2 separate regions of the Homo sapiens genome follow, and region 2 is linked to region 1. The links are contacts of gene promoters, found by promoter capture Hi-C in human tissues and cell types (Jung and others, 2019). All regions are on one chromosome and are shown on one strand. The core of a region is centred on a gene start or on the middle of the fragment in contact, and the rest is flanking DNA. Distances in the headings are between cores, read along the strand shown. Region 1 holds the start of OCM (oncomodulin). Region 2 has its middle 4.3 kb from the start of ZNF316.

What was found. Contacts are between HindIII fragments. The study calls those that stand out against the background at their distance.
Region 2: a fragment that was not itself captured here is called in contact with the fragment with the promoter of OCM in region 1 in 1 of the 25 tissues and cell types used here (aorta).

Annotation. Positions count from the first base shown.
Region 1 is chr7:5,879,548-5,885,744 of GRCh38, reverse strand. It overlaps OCM (oncomodulin), which reads right to left and starts at 4,947. Exons shown (of 4, transcript NM_001097622.2): 1 at 4,795-4,947; 2 at 3,120-3,252; 3 at 1,746-1,855. The coding sequence starts at 4,855. The HindIII fragment of the contact is 18,194 bases long and covers 1,846-6,197 here.
Region 2 is chr7:6,629,553-6,636,475 of GRCh38, reverse strand. No RefSeq gene overlaps it. Among named protein-coding and RNA genes, the nearest start is that of ZNF316, 4.3 kb to the left of the region's middle. The HindIII fragment of the contact is 5,006 bases long and covers 312-5,317 here.

The DNA of each region.
Region 1 (6,197 bases), core at 3,698-6,197:
CAGCTACTTGGGAGGCTGAGGCAGGAGAATCACTTGAACCTGGGAGGCGGAGGTTGCAGTGAGCCGAAATCACGCCATTGCACTCTAGCCTGGGCGAGAGAGCCAGACTCCAACTCAAAAAAAAAAAAAAAGGAAAGAAAGAAAGAAAAAAAAACCCTGGGTATCAATGACTATATCTCGAGGAAGTTCACAGGGTTCCATTTCTCTGAATAATCTTATTTAACAAACATCTTCAGCTTTGCAATAGAGGTCTTTGAATTAGAACTTGTCAAGCCTATCATTTCTCCCTGATAATGCATGAATTCAGTGGAATTACCTGTGACCATCTGTGAACATTTAACTTTTTGTCTGGTCAATTTCAGACAGGAAGGGGAGATTTTCTTTCTCTATTCCGTAGCTGGGTATTGCATTTTTAGGATATATTTGATAGGGTGGGACTTTGAACTGACTTTCCTCCATTGAACCAAACTCCAAACGTTTCTGTTACTAAAAGAAGGATAATAGTAATAATAACAAGGTATGGATGTTACAGATTGATATAAAAAACTGGGGACTTGCTTTATATTTATTGGTAAGCTTTGTTTATTTGGAAATCCTTCATGGTTATGTTTTTTTTTTTCTTTTGAGATAGAGTTTCACTCTTGTTGCCCAGGCTGGAGTGCAATGGTGCCATCTTGGCTCCCTGCAACCTCTGCCTCCCAGGTTCAAGCGATTCTCCTGCCTCAGCTTCCCGAGTAGTTGGGATTACAGGTGCCCACCACCATGACCGGCTAATTTTTTATATTTTCAATAGAGATGGGGTTCACCATGTTGGTCAGTCTAGTCTTGAACTCCCGACTTCAGGGGATCTGCCCACCTTGGCCTCCAAAATTGCTGGGATTATAGGCCTGAGCCACCACGCCCAGCCCCTGGTTATGTTTAAATAAGGCAATCCCCCCTTACCTAATCTGTTTTTATGAGCTATCTATCTGCATTAACTCCCATGTAGTAAGCGATAGTGGTATAATTTTGAACAGGTTTTTTTTTTTTTAATAAGCATCTAACGTAGCAGTTTTAAATTTCAAATTAGCACCACCAGAAGGACCATCATATGTTCTGCTGAGTTGGCAGGCACAAAGCAGTTAAAAAGCACGCTAGCAACATGACAAAATCAAGTGAAAATAGTCCTACAGCTGTGCTAGTGTATTCTAAAGCTCAAACCTAGGATTCGGCCTATGGAAGACTCAATAAATGAGGTTGGCTTATTTGTTCTCTGTTTAATATTATCCCCTTGGCGGGCTAATGTCCAATAAAATATATTTGTCTAAACCCTTGAAGACGAAGAGGGCTTCCTACGCATGCCAATGGACCCTGGTCTGAGGATGTAAATCTTTCCCTTATTCTGAGGGGTTCAAACCCCACTGGTAGAAATACCTCGCGCTTTATGCAGGTGCATTATGGTTGGCAGGTGCAAATAATTGGCCAGGTGGCTAGCTAGTCCCCTAGTCAGGTGAAGGATATTTTGCAGCTCATAGACAATGACCAGTGTGACCAGCTTCTATAGTACCTACCGAGCATTATGCCAGGGTTTTTACACACATCATTTGCATCCTTACTTTAGTCCCATTTTACAGATGAGAAGACTGAGGCTCGGTAAGTTTAAGAAAGGGAGATTTTAAGCCACATTGGTTTGATCTCACAGCCCAAGCCCTCACGGATGCTTCCTGAGCTAGAGTGTTTTATGCTACGTACACGTGTGGACATACCCTCTGCTCCAATTTTCCCATCTCCATCATTATCCGCCGCAGCCATCAAGGACTTGGTTTCTGACTCGGTCAGTTCTCTGGCACCACTCTCAAACTTCTGGAGGAAAAACCTACAGGATAATAAAGATCCATGGGGATTTTCAAAAAGATCATGCATCTCTGTGTTTACACTTTTGTTTTTCCTCTAAGCATATCACCTGTTTCCAGCACCGGCAATAATTAACCAAGGTCTTAGCAAGCAAAGGTTTCCTTAAGCTGTAGAAACCAATGGTGGGCACTTCATTTTTAAGGTTTTGTTTGTTTGTTTGTTTTTGAGACAGGGTCTTGCTCTGTCACCCAGGCTGGAATGCAGTGATACCATCATGGCTCACTGCAGCCTCGACTTCCTGGGCTCAATCAATCCTCCTGCCTCAACCTCCTGAGTAGCTGGGACTACAGGTGCACCCCACCATGCCCCACTAACATTTGTATTTTTTTTTGTAGAGACAAGGTTTTGTCATGTTCCCCAGACTGGTCTGGAACCCCTGGGCTCACTCAAGCAATCCACCCACCTCAGCCTCCCAAAGGGCTGGGATTGTAGGTGTGAGCCACAGTGCCTGGCCCATTTTTAAGTTTTTAGTGTTTTTAATTTTTATTTATTTATTTATTTGAGACAGAGTCTCTCTCTGTCACCCAGGCTGGAGTGCAGCTGCACGATCTGGGCTCACTGCAACCTCTGCCTCCTGACTTCAAGCAATTCTTGTGCTTCAGTCTTCTGAGTAGCTGGAATTACAGGCGTGAGCCACTGCGCTTAGCCAAGTTTTTAGTTTTTTAAAGTCCATTTGCCAAAGGAAATCCCTTACATGAAAGAATCTTTGTGGCTGGGCACAGTGACTCACACCTGTAATCCCAGCACTTTGGGAGGCCAAGGCAGGAGGATCACTTGAAGTCAGGAGTTTGAGACCAGCCTGGCAACATAGTGAAGCCCCATCTCTACTCTAAATATGAAAATGAGCTGGATGTGGTGGCAGGCACCTGTAATCCCAGCCACTTGGGAGACTGAGGCATGAGAATCACTTGAATTTGGAAGGCGGAGGCTGCAGGGAGCTGAGATCACCCCACTGCACTCCAGCCTGGGCAACAGAGTGAGGCCCTGTCTCAAAAAAAAAAAAAAAAAAAAGAATCTTTGCACCTGCAGTCTTCTCTGCCCATATTGAGGGCTTTGCATGGGTAGATGTGCGGTCAACTGACTCATGTCCTTTGCTTTAATGATGCTTGGCCGAATGACCAACACCAAGGCTGGCCATTGAAGAAATACTGAGCAACCTGGCCCCCACTGCACCCCAGGCCCACTCAGCAGTGCCGGGTACCAGACAGACTCAGGACAAAGCTTACTTAAGCTCTTCTTCATCCAGGTACCCGCTCTGGTCGTTGTCTATGAACCGGAAAACATCCTTCACCTGATTGGCTGACATCTTGGAGAGGCCTGATGTCTGGAAGAATTTTTGGGGTTCAAAAGTGTCTGGGTCTGAAGAACAGAGAATTGGTTATTCTGACGCTTGTTGGATCACATTCTATGTTGGGGCCAAGGTACTAAAAACACAGATAATTAAAAACACTTCAACAATATCCCTGAGCTACGGGGATGCTCAACTGGTCCAAGATTTTGGGACAGCCAAGACTTGATGGCTCTGTGATGGCATCCCATGTCCCCTCCGCCCCAGTCTTCCCTCCTCCACTTGGTTTTGTCCATTTTCCTTTTCCCTCCTCATCTCTTCTGTGCCTCCCCCTCCCCCTGGCCCACTTTACAGGCTGTGTGGCTGAGCCCCCAGCATCCCTGGTCTAATTGGTAGGGGGAAATGCAATCACTGGATTTCAACAGGCTAAATGGCCTTTGGCGCTTTTTTTTTTTTTTTTTTTTTTTTTTTTTTTTTTGAGACAGAGTCTCACTCTGTCACCAGGCTGGAGTGCAGTGGCGTGATCTCGGCTCACTGCAACCTCTGCCTCCCGGGTTCAACTGATTCTCCTGCTTCAGCCTCCCAAGTAGCTGAGATTACAGGTGTGCACCCCCATGCCCAGCTCATTTTTGTATTTTTAATAGAGACAGGGTTTTGCCATGCTGGCCAGGTTGGTCTTGAACTCCTGACCTCAAGTGATGCACCGGCCTCGGCCTCCCAAAGTGTTGGGATTACAGGTGTGAGCACGACACCTGGCCTTTCAGTGATGTCTTGCTTTCATGTTTAGTAGGTTTCTTTTGTCTTACAGATGTGTAATCGTGTGCTCAGATCCCAGATCTCTATAATTTTAGTTATCTAATAAATAGCAGTTTTCTTCTCTGATTCCATGAATTTTCCAGCCAACCTCTTATTTATTTATTTATTTATTTATTTAGAGCCAGAGTCTCACTCTGTCGTCCAAGCTGGAGTGCAGTGTAGCGATCATAGCTCACCACAGCCTCAACCTCCTGGGCTTCAGTGATCCTCCTACCTTAGTTTCCAGAGTAGCTGGGACCACAGGCACATGCCACCATGCCCCGCTAGTTTTTATTTTTATTGTTATGTTGTAGAGATGGAGTCTTCCTATGTTGCCCAGGCTGGTCTCAAACTCCTGGGCTCAAACAGTCCTCTCACCTTGGCCTCCAAAAAGTGTTGGGATTACAGATGTGAGCCACCATGCCTGGTCTACTTTTTTTTTTTTTTTTTGTAGACAGAGTCTTGCTCTGTTGCCCAGGCTGGAGTGCAGTGGCATGATCTCAGCTCACTGCAACTTCTGCCTCCCGGGTTCAAGCAATTCTCTGCCTCAGCCTCCCGAGTAGCTGGGATTACAGGCACCCACCACCACGCCCGGTTAATTTTTTTGTATTTTTAGTAGAGATGGGGTTTCACCATCTTGGCCAGGCTGGTCTCGAACTCCTGACCTCGTGATCCACCCGCCTCGGCCTCCCAAAGTGCTGGGATTACAGGTGTGAGCCACTGCGTCTGGCCGCCTGGCCTACATTTTGATTTTGTGTTGACTCGCTGGAGGTGCAAAGCTGTGAGGAAATCCCACCCCCGCCTCACGTCCCCTCTACCTCGGCATTCCTGGAGCGCTGCTGCAATGTCGTCAGCACTGAGCACGTCCGTGATGCTCATTTTCTACCTACTCACACAGAATAAATGAGAGGCGATAAGCCACAAACAGGAATGTGCACATCCAGGGGAAACACATCTTCCCAGGCCCACTGAAACTGTATGTGTGTCTAGATTATTTTTTTTTTTAAATTAAGACGGAGTCTCACTCTGTCACCCAGGCTGGAGTGCAAGAGCGTGATCTCGGCTCACCGCAACCTCCGCCTCCTGGGCTCAAGTGATTCTCCTGCCTAAGCCTTCCCAGTAGCTGGGATTACAGGTGCGCACTACCATGCCTGGCTAATTTTTGTGTTTTTAGTAGAGACGGGGTTTTGCCATGTTGGCCAGGCTGGTCTTGAGCTCCTGACCTCAGGTGATCTGCCTGCCTTGGCCTCACAAAGTGCTGGGATGACAGATGCAAGCCACCGAGCCAGGCCTGTCTAGAATTTTTAAAATGTGATAAGCATGGTTTTGTATTAAGTGACGGGACAGAATATCCAAATTAAAACCAGATACGGAAAACACCCCAGCCTTTTTTGTCTCAGAGCCTTCTTTTGAATACATGCCAAAAATGGAAAAAAAAAATGACCCAAAGAAGGATTCAATTGTTTTCTTATAAAAATTATACTGACATAATCAGTCATTTGCATAGGCAGCCGTAAACCATGTTACACATGCACTGGCATTTTCCTACAGCAGCCCGAGAGATGCAATGTTGCAAATTCCACGTGGGAAAGGATACAGTTTGGGCTGCTTGCAGACATTCTGTGGAAGAAGGCATGCACCTGTCCTGAAAGGTGGGAAGCAGATGGATGAAAAGCCCATCTCCCAGAGATTAAAATCCTTCCAGGTGTCAGAGCCACCGGAAAACAGGAGTCTAAGCACCTGAGCCTAATATGAATGCATGCAGTGAAGAAAAGAGTCTGGGGTCTGATGTGTCCACCAGTTACTCACCGTTTTCGGTTTCCCCCCAGGAAGAATCAGGAAAAAGAGTTGAAGGAGCAAAACAACAGATGTGTTTTTGCTACCTTACTGACCTACCTTATATAGGCTAGAAAAAGTGATAGTTACAACCTCTTAGATTTCCTTTTCAAGGATCAAGTGGATGCAGCTCAAATGTCTTGTCTTACTCATGAAACCTCTTTTTTTTTTTTTTTCTATTTATGTCTCAAGGGAATGTGGGTGGGAACAGCCAATTGTAAAAAAAAAAAAAAAACAACAACAAACTTCAACAAACCTTAACTAAGATTTCAATTCTGCAAACGAACCCTGTTGGCAAAGTGTGGAGAAGGTTCTAGATGCCTGGTAAGGTGGAGATGGTGGCCTGAACTAAGACAAACACATACAGGGTGCTCTGTAAGCTGAA
Region 2 (6,923 bases), core at 1,565-4,064, 750 kb before region 1:
GGTGCTTTTCTGTGGGGACCCCAGGCCTGACTGGGCAAGAGATAGAGGAGGACTCGGCCAGGCACGGTGTCTGTAATCCTAGCACTTTGGGAGGTCTTGGCGGGCGGATCACGAGGTCAGGAGTTCGAGACTAGCTTGGCTAACATGGTGGGTGAAACCCCATCTCTACTAAAAATACAAAAATTAGCCGGCCGTGGTAGCGCACCCCTGTAGTCCCAGCTGCTTGGGAGGCTGAGGCAGGAGAATCGTTTGAAGCCGGGAGGCAGAGGGTGCAGTGAGCCGAGATCACACCACTGCACGCCAGCCTGGGCGACAAGGTGAGACTCTGTCTCAAAATAATAATAAGATAGAGGAGGACTCAAACCTTAGTCCCACAGAGGGGTGCAGCCCCAACCCCTTGAATCAGACCCTCACAGTGATGTCGCTTGGCTCTTGGTGTCTTAAAATGTCTTAAAGTTAATAACATTTTAAAATAAGGAGTCCCATTCTTGTTTAAAAAATAAAATTGAAAAATCAGGTTCTAATGCGGGGTCTCACACCTATAAATTAAGCACTCTGGGGGGCCGAGGCGGGTCACACCTGTAATCCCAGCACTTTGGGAAAACAAGGTGGGAGGATTGCTTGAGCCCAGGAGGTTGAGGCTGCAGTGAGCTATGATAGCACCACTCCACTCCAGCCTGGGCAACAGATTGAAACCCTGTCTCTAATAATAAATAAAATCTGAAAAATCAGAAGTTCTGGCAACACAAGGCCCCTGGTTTGCAGGGCACCAGCCAGTAGGGCCTGAGAAGTAACCAGCTTCTGTGGGTGGGACTGAGCGTGGCCATGGTCCTCAGTGCCCACCACTCCCTGTCCCTTTCCTCCAGGCCCACATCTGAATGACACTGCCTGACTCTCCTGTGGGTATCTTTTAGAACCCCTAATCCCTAGATTAGACCCTTCCCCACCCTACCTGATCCGTCAGGTTCAGTAGGAAGGTGCAATTGCCCCCAGGCACTCCCAGGAAGGGCTCTGACTGTAGGACAATTAACAATTGACCAAAAGCAGTGTCACCAGGTGATGTGGTTTGGCTGTGTCCCCACTGAAATCTCGTCTTGAATTGTAGTTCTCATGATCCCCACATGTTGTGGAAGGGACCCGGTGGGAGGTAATTAAATCATGGGGGCAGTTCGCCTCATGCTGTTCTCATGTTAGTGAGTTCTCATGAGATCTGATGGTTTTGTAAGGGGCTTTTCCCCTTTGCTCCACACTTCTCCTTCCTGCCATCATGTGAAGAAGGAAGTGTTTGCTTCCCCTTCCACCATGATTGTAAATTTCCTGAGGCCTCCCCAGTCATGCGGAACTGTGAGTCAGTTTTTGGTGGTGGTGGTGGTTGGTGGTGGTTGGTGGTGGTGGTGGTGGTTTGTTTTGTTTTTGTTTTTTTCTTGAGATGGAGTCTCGCACTCTGTTGCCCAAGCTGGAGTGCAGTGGCACAATCTCTGCTCACTGCAACGTCAACCTCCCAGGTTCAAGTGATTCTCCTGCCTCAGCCTCCCAAGTAGCTGGGATTACAGGTGTGCACTACCACGCCTGGCTAATTTTTGTATTTTTAGTTGAGATGGGGTTTCACCGTGTTGGTCAGGCTGGTCTCGAACTCCTGACCTCGTGATCCGCCCGCCTCGGCCTCCCAAAGTGCTGGGATTACAGGCAAGAGCCACTGTGAGTTAAACCTCTTTCCTTTTATAAGTTTCCCGGTCTTGGGCAGTTCTTTACAGCAGCATGAAAATGGACTAATACACCAGGTAAAGGGAAGCAGCTGGAATGTGAAGGCACCAGGCCTTTGCCACCCTTAGCCCTGCAGGAGCAGGAAAGGGCAGGATGTTGTCAAGCCTGGAGGGAGGTGGAGATATAAAGATGGGGACACTGTGGGCACTGTGATTATAGAGGGACAGTGTGGCAAGGAGAGAGTACCCCAACCCTGCCCTCCTGCACCCTGTCACTTCCCAGTGCTGCCCGTTGCCCAAAACCACCTGTAATGTGGACAGCAAGGGACCCCAGAAGAGGAGTGTGTATAATAGAGTCAGCAGCTCCATCCCGGCCTTAGATCCCTCCACCCTGTCAGGCAGGGACCCCGAATCACCCCAGCATCTCCTCAGATCTCCTCTTGGCCTGTCCTCACCTGATACCTAATCCAAGACTCAATTTCTTCCTCTCCCTCGTCCACAGATAATTTTCCTTTTCCTTTTCCTTTTCCTTTCCTTTCTTTCCTTCTTTCTTTCCCTTCCTTCCTTTCTTCCTTCCCTTTTCTTCCTTTCCCTTTCCTTTTTAGGAAAGGAAAGGGCGTGAGCCACCTCACCGGGCCCTACGAGTGAGTTTTGCTTCTTGCTCCAACAGCACTGCTGAGGGGCTGAGGAGACGGAGAGGAGACGAAGGAAGCTGGTGGGACTTATGTGTCCTTGGCCTTAGGGAGATGCTAGACCAGGCCTGGGCCACCTGAGGATGCCTCTGACCTGGGGACAATTGGTTGTCATAAACTGTAGTTTAGTTGGACCTTCTTGTCACTCACTACTGAACTCAGTCTTGATAGATTTCCCTAGACTCATTTGAAGAAGGAAGTAATTAAAAAGCAGGCCAGGATTGGCCCATGCCTGTAGTCCCAGCACTTTGGAAGGCTGAGGCAGGAGGAAAGCTTAAGGCCAGGAGTTTGAGAGCAGCCTGGGCAACATAGCAAGACCCTGTCGCTACACAACATTTTTAAAAATTAGCTGGGTGCAGTGGCTCACGCCTGGAATCCCAGCACTTTGGGAGGCCGAAGCAGGAAGATAGCTTGAGCCCAGGAGTTCAAGACCAGCCTGGGCAACATAGTGAAACCTTGACTCTACTAAAAATTTAAAAATTAGTTGGGTGTGGTGGTGCATGCCTGTAGTCCCAGCTACTCAGGAGGCTGTGGTGAGAGGATTGCTTGAGCCCAAGAGGTTGAGGCTGCAATGAACTATGTTCACACCACTGCACTCCAGCCTGGGTGACAGAGGAAAACTCTGTCTCAAAAATAAAATAAAATAGGCCAGGCACGGTGGCTCATGCCTGTAATCCCAGCACTTTGGGAGGCTGAGGCAGATGGATCACGAGATCAGGAGATCGAGACCATCCTGGCTAACACGGTGAAAACCCGTCTGTACTGAAAATACAAAAAATTAGCCGGGCATGGTGGTGGGCACCTGGAGTCCCAGCTACTGGGGAGGCTGAGGCAGGAGAATGGCGTGAACCTGGGAGGCGGAGCTTGCAGTGAGCCGAGATTGTGCCATTGCACTCCAGCCTGGGCGACACAGCAAAATTCTGTCTCAAAAAAATAATAATAAAATAAAATAAAATAGCTGGGTGCAGTGGCTCACACCTGTAATCCCAGCACTTTGGGAGGCCGAGGCAGGTGGATCACCTAAGGTCAGGAGTTCAAGTCCAGCCTAGCTAACATGGTGAAACCCTGTTGCTACTAAAAATACAAAAATTAGGGGCCAGGCACAGTGGCTCACACCTGTAATCCCAGCACTTGGGGAGGCCAAGGTGGGCGGATCATCTGAGGTCAGGATTTCAAGACCAGCCTGGCCAACATGGAGAAACCCTGTCTCTACTAAAAATATAAAATTAGCCAGGTGTGGTGGCACACACCTGTAATCCCAGCTACTCGGGAGGCTGAGGCAGGAGAATCGCTTGAACCCGGGAGGCAGAGGTTGCAGTGAGCCGAGATTGTGTCATTACACTCCAGCCTGAGTGACAGAGTGAGACTCCATCTCAAAAATTAAATAATGTGGGGCGCAGTAGCTCATGCCTGTAATCCCAGCACTTTGGGAGGCCAAGGCCGGTGGATCACCTGAGGTCAGGAGTTGAAAACCAGCCTGACCAACATGGTGAAACCCCGTCTCTACTAAAAAAAAAATACAAAAATTTAGCTGGGCGTGGTGGTGGGTGCCTGTAATCCCAGCTACTCAGGAGACTGAGGCAGGAGAATCGCTTGAACCCGGGAGGCGGAGGTTGCAGTGAGCCGAGATCGCGCCCCTGCACTCCAGTATGGGCGACAGAGTGAGACTCCGTCTCAAAAAAAAAAAAAAGTAAATCATACCCTTTTTGCACTAGTACAATTCCATGTCAGTCATCTATCTATGAGCAGTTGGTGGGGTTGGGGCTGGGGGAATATCCAAGCATACTCATGAAACAGTTCCTGGGGTGTCATCTGCCTGGCTCCTGCCCATCCTCCACGGTGGGTGCTGGCAGTGAGGAGGGTGCCAGCCCACCCAGTGATTGGCATGAAGCTTGTTCTATGCTTCAGCCTTCGTGTGTCTCACTGGCAGGGACACAGGGTATGTGAAAAGTTAACAGGCATCTGGGGCATTTGGAATTCTGTGAGGCCGAGAGCATCTCCGTTCAAGTACATGGGCCTGCCCCGTATCTGCACAGACCCACCTGCAGGGACTGAACATTGACTGGGCAGAGCTCCCCTTCACTCGGCTCTCGGGACTTCCTCAGCTGTCTCTTCCTGCAGGAAGCCCTCCTGGGCTCCTCCTGAGCTCTCACACCAGGGGCTGGCAGGGAGCCTGGCACAGAAGGATGCTGATGGATGCCCCCACGGAGCCTCTGTGTGCCTGGAGTGGGCTGAAGGCAGTAGTGCTGCTATTAAAACCATAGGTGAGGCTGGGAGCGGTGACTCATGTTTCGTGTTAGTCGGTTCTCCTATTGCTATAAAGAACTGCCAGAGACTAGGTAATTTAAGAAAAGAGGTTTCACTGGCTCATGTCTCTGCAGCCTATACAGAAAGCATGGCTGGGGAGGCCTCAGGAAACGTACAGTCATGGCAAAAGGTGAAGGGGGAGCCAGCACTTCAAATGGTGGCAGCAGGAGGAATGAGAGAGAAGGGAGGGGTGCCACACACTTGTAAACAACTAGATCTCACAAGAACTCACTGTCGTGGTGACAGCTCCAGGGGGAATGGTATCAAACCATGAGAAATTGCCCCCATAATCCAATCATCTCCCACCAGGCCCCACCTCTAACACTGGGGATTACAGTTGAACTTGAGAGGCCAGGAATGGTGGCTCAGGCCTGTAATCTCGGTACTTTGGGAGGCCAAAGTGGGTGGATCACCTGAGGTCAGGAGTTTGAGTCCAGCCTGGCGAACCTGGTGAAACCCCGTCTCTACTAAAAATACAAAAATTAGCTAGGAGTGGTGGCGAGTGCCTATAATCCCCGCTACTCAGGAGGCTGAGGCAGGAGAATCTCTTGAACCCAGGAGGTGGAGGTTGCAGTGAGCTGAGATCACACCATTGCACTCCAGCCTGGGTGACAGAGGGAGACTCAGTCTCCAAAAATAAATAAATAACAATTGAACATGAGATTTGGGTGGGGACACAGATCCAAACCATATTATTCCTGTAATCCCAGCACTTTGGGAAGCCAAGGTGGGAGGATCGATCACTTGAGCCCAGGAGTTCGAGAACAGCCTGAGCAACATAGTGAGACTTCGTCTCTACAAAAAGTAGAAAAAATTAGCCAGGTATGGTGGTGCGAGCCTGTAGTTCCAGCTACTCGGGAGGGTGAGCCTGCAGTGAGCTATGATGGTGCCACTGCACTCTAGCCTGAGCGACAGACTGAGACCCTGTCTCAAGAAAAAAAAGAAAAAGAAAACAAAGCTGGACAGTAGTTAAAACGGTAAAAAACAGATTTTATTCAGGAACTATTGCAATAGGGAAAAGAGACCTCAGTATAGAACTGGGCTCAATTCTGAATACAGCAGGGACAAGTGGAGACTTCCAGCCTAGGAGCAGGTTGGAGGGGAGTGGGTGGGTGGAAAAATACGAAGGAGTGGGAGGTTGTGGTTGAACTGACTCCCAGGATCCTGGCTGAAGGCAGGCAAGAGTGATCAGAGGGCACCTGGCAGGTGGTGGGAGAGGAGGGATTTGATCAGATACCAAGGGTGGAGATTCTGGCTAAACTGACTTGACAGGATTTTTGCTACAGCTGGGCAATGCAGAGACGGGCACAGACACTCAAAGGTCAAGGCTGAGTGGAGAAGAGGCTCCGGGGAGGCTGAAGGCCGCTCAAGGAAATAGAAAGACTGTGTTTCCAGCCCTGCATGCCTCCTCATCGGCAGTTGAGACCCCACTGCTGCCTGCTCCTTCCCATTCCATTGCGGGGACCTGGACTTGATCTAGCCCTGTCTGGTGGACACACTTTTGTAGGTGCCAGGAGGGAGGAATCTGCTCCTCCTTTCTGCCCCCGACAGCCCCCAGCCCCAGTGGCCACTCACTCCCAGCATGCCTTGCAGCTGCCTGAGTGGGAGACTGTGGTGGACTCGGAGCTGGGGCAGGGAGGACAAGCTTCTTCTGGAAGGGCAATGGGCAGAGGGTGACCTGGTCTTTCACGGTGGTGTCAAGGACCATAGAGCCAGGCCACATTCTCCCCACGTTAACTTTCCCAAAGGGATCAGTTTTCTGCTGAACAATCATTCCCATTTACTGGGAATTATTGGGCAGTGCCTCATGCCTGTAATCCCAGCACTTTGTGGGGGGCTGAGGCGAGAGGATTGATTGAGCCCAGGAGTTTGAGACCAGTCTGGGCAACATAGCAAGACCTCGCCTCTACAAAAAATTTAAAAATTAGAGGTCGGGGCCGGGCGTGGTGGCTCACGCCTGTAATCCCAGCACTTTGGGAGGCCAAGGTGGGCAGATCACGAGGTCAGGAGATCGAGACCATCCTGGCTAACACGGTGAAACCCCGTCTCTACTAAAAATACAAAAAATTAGCTGGGCATGGTGGCGGGCGCCTGTAGTCCCAGCTACTCGGGAGGCTGAGGCAGGAGAATGGCGTGAACCTGGGAGGCGGAGCTTGCAGTGAGCCGAGATTGCGCCACTGTACTCCAGCCTGGGTGACAGAGTGAGACTCCGTCTCAAAAA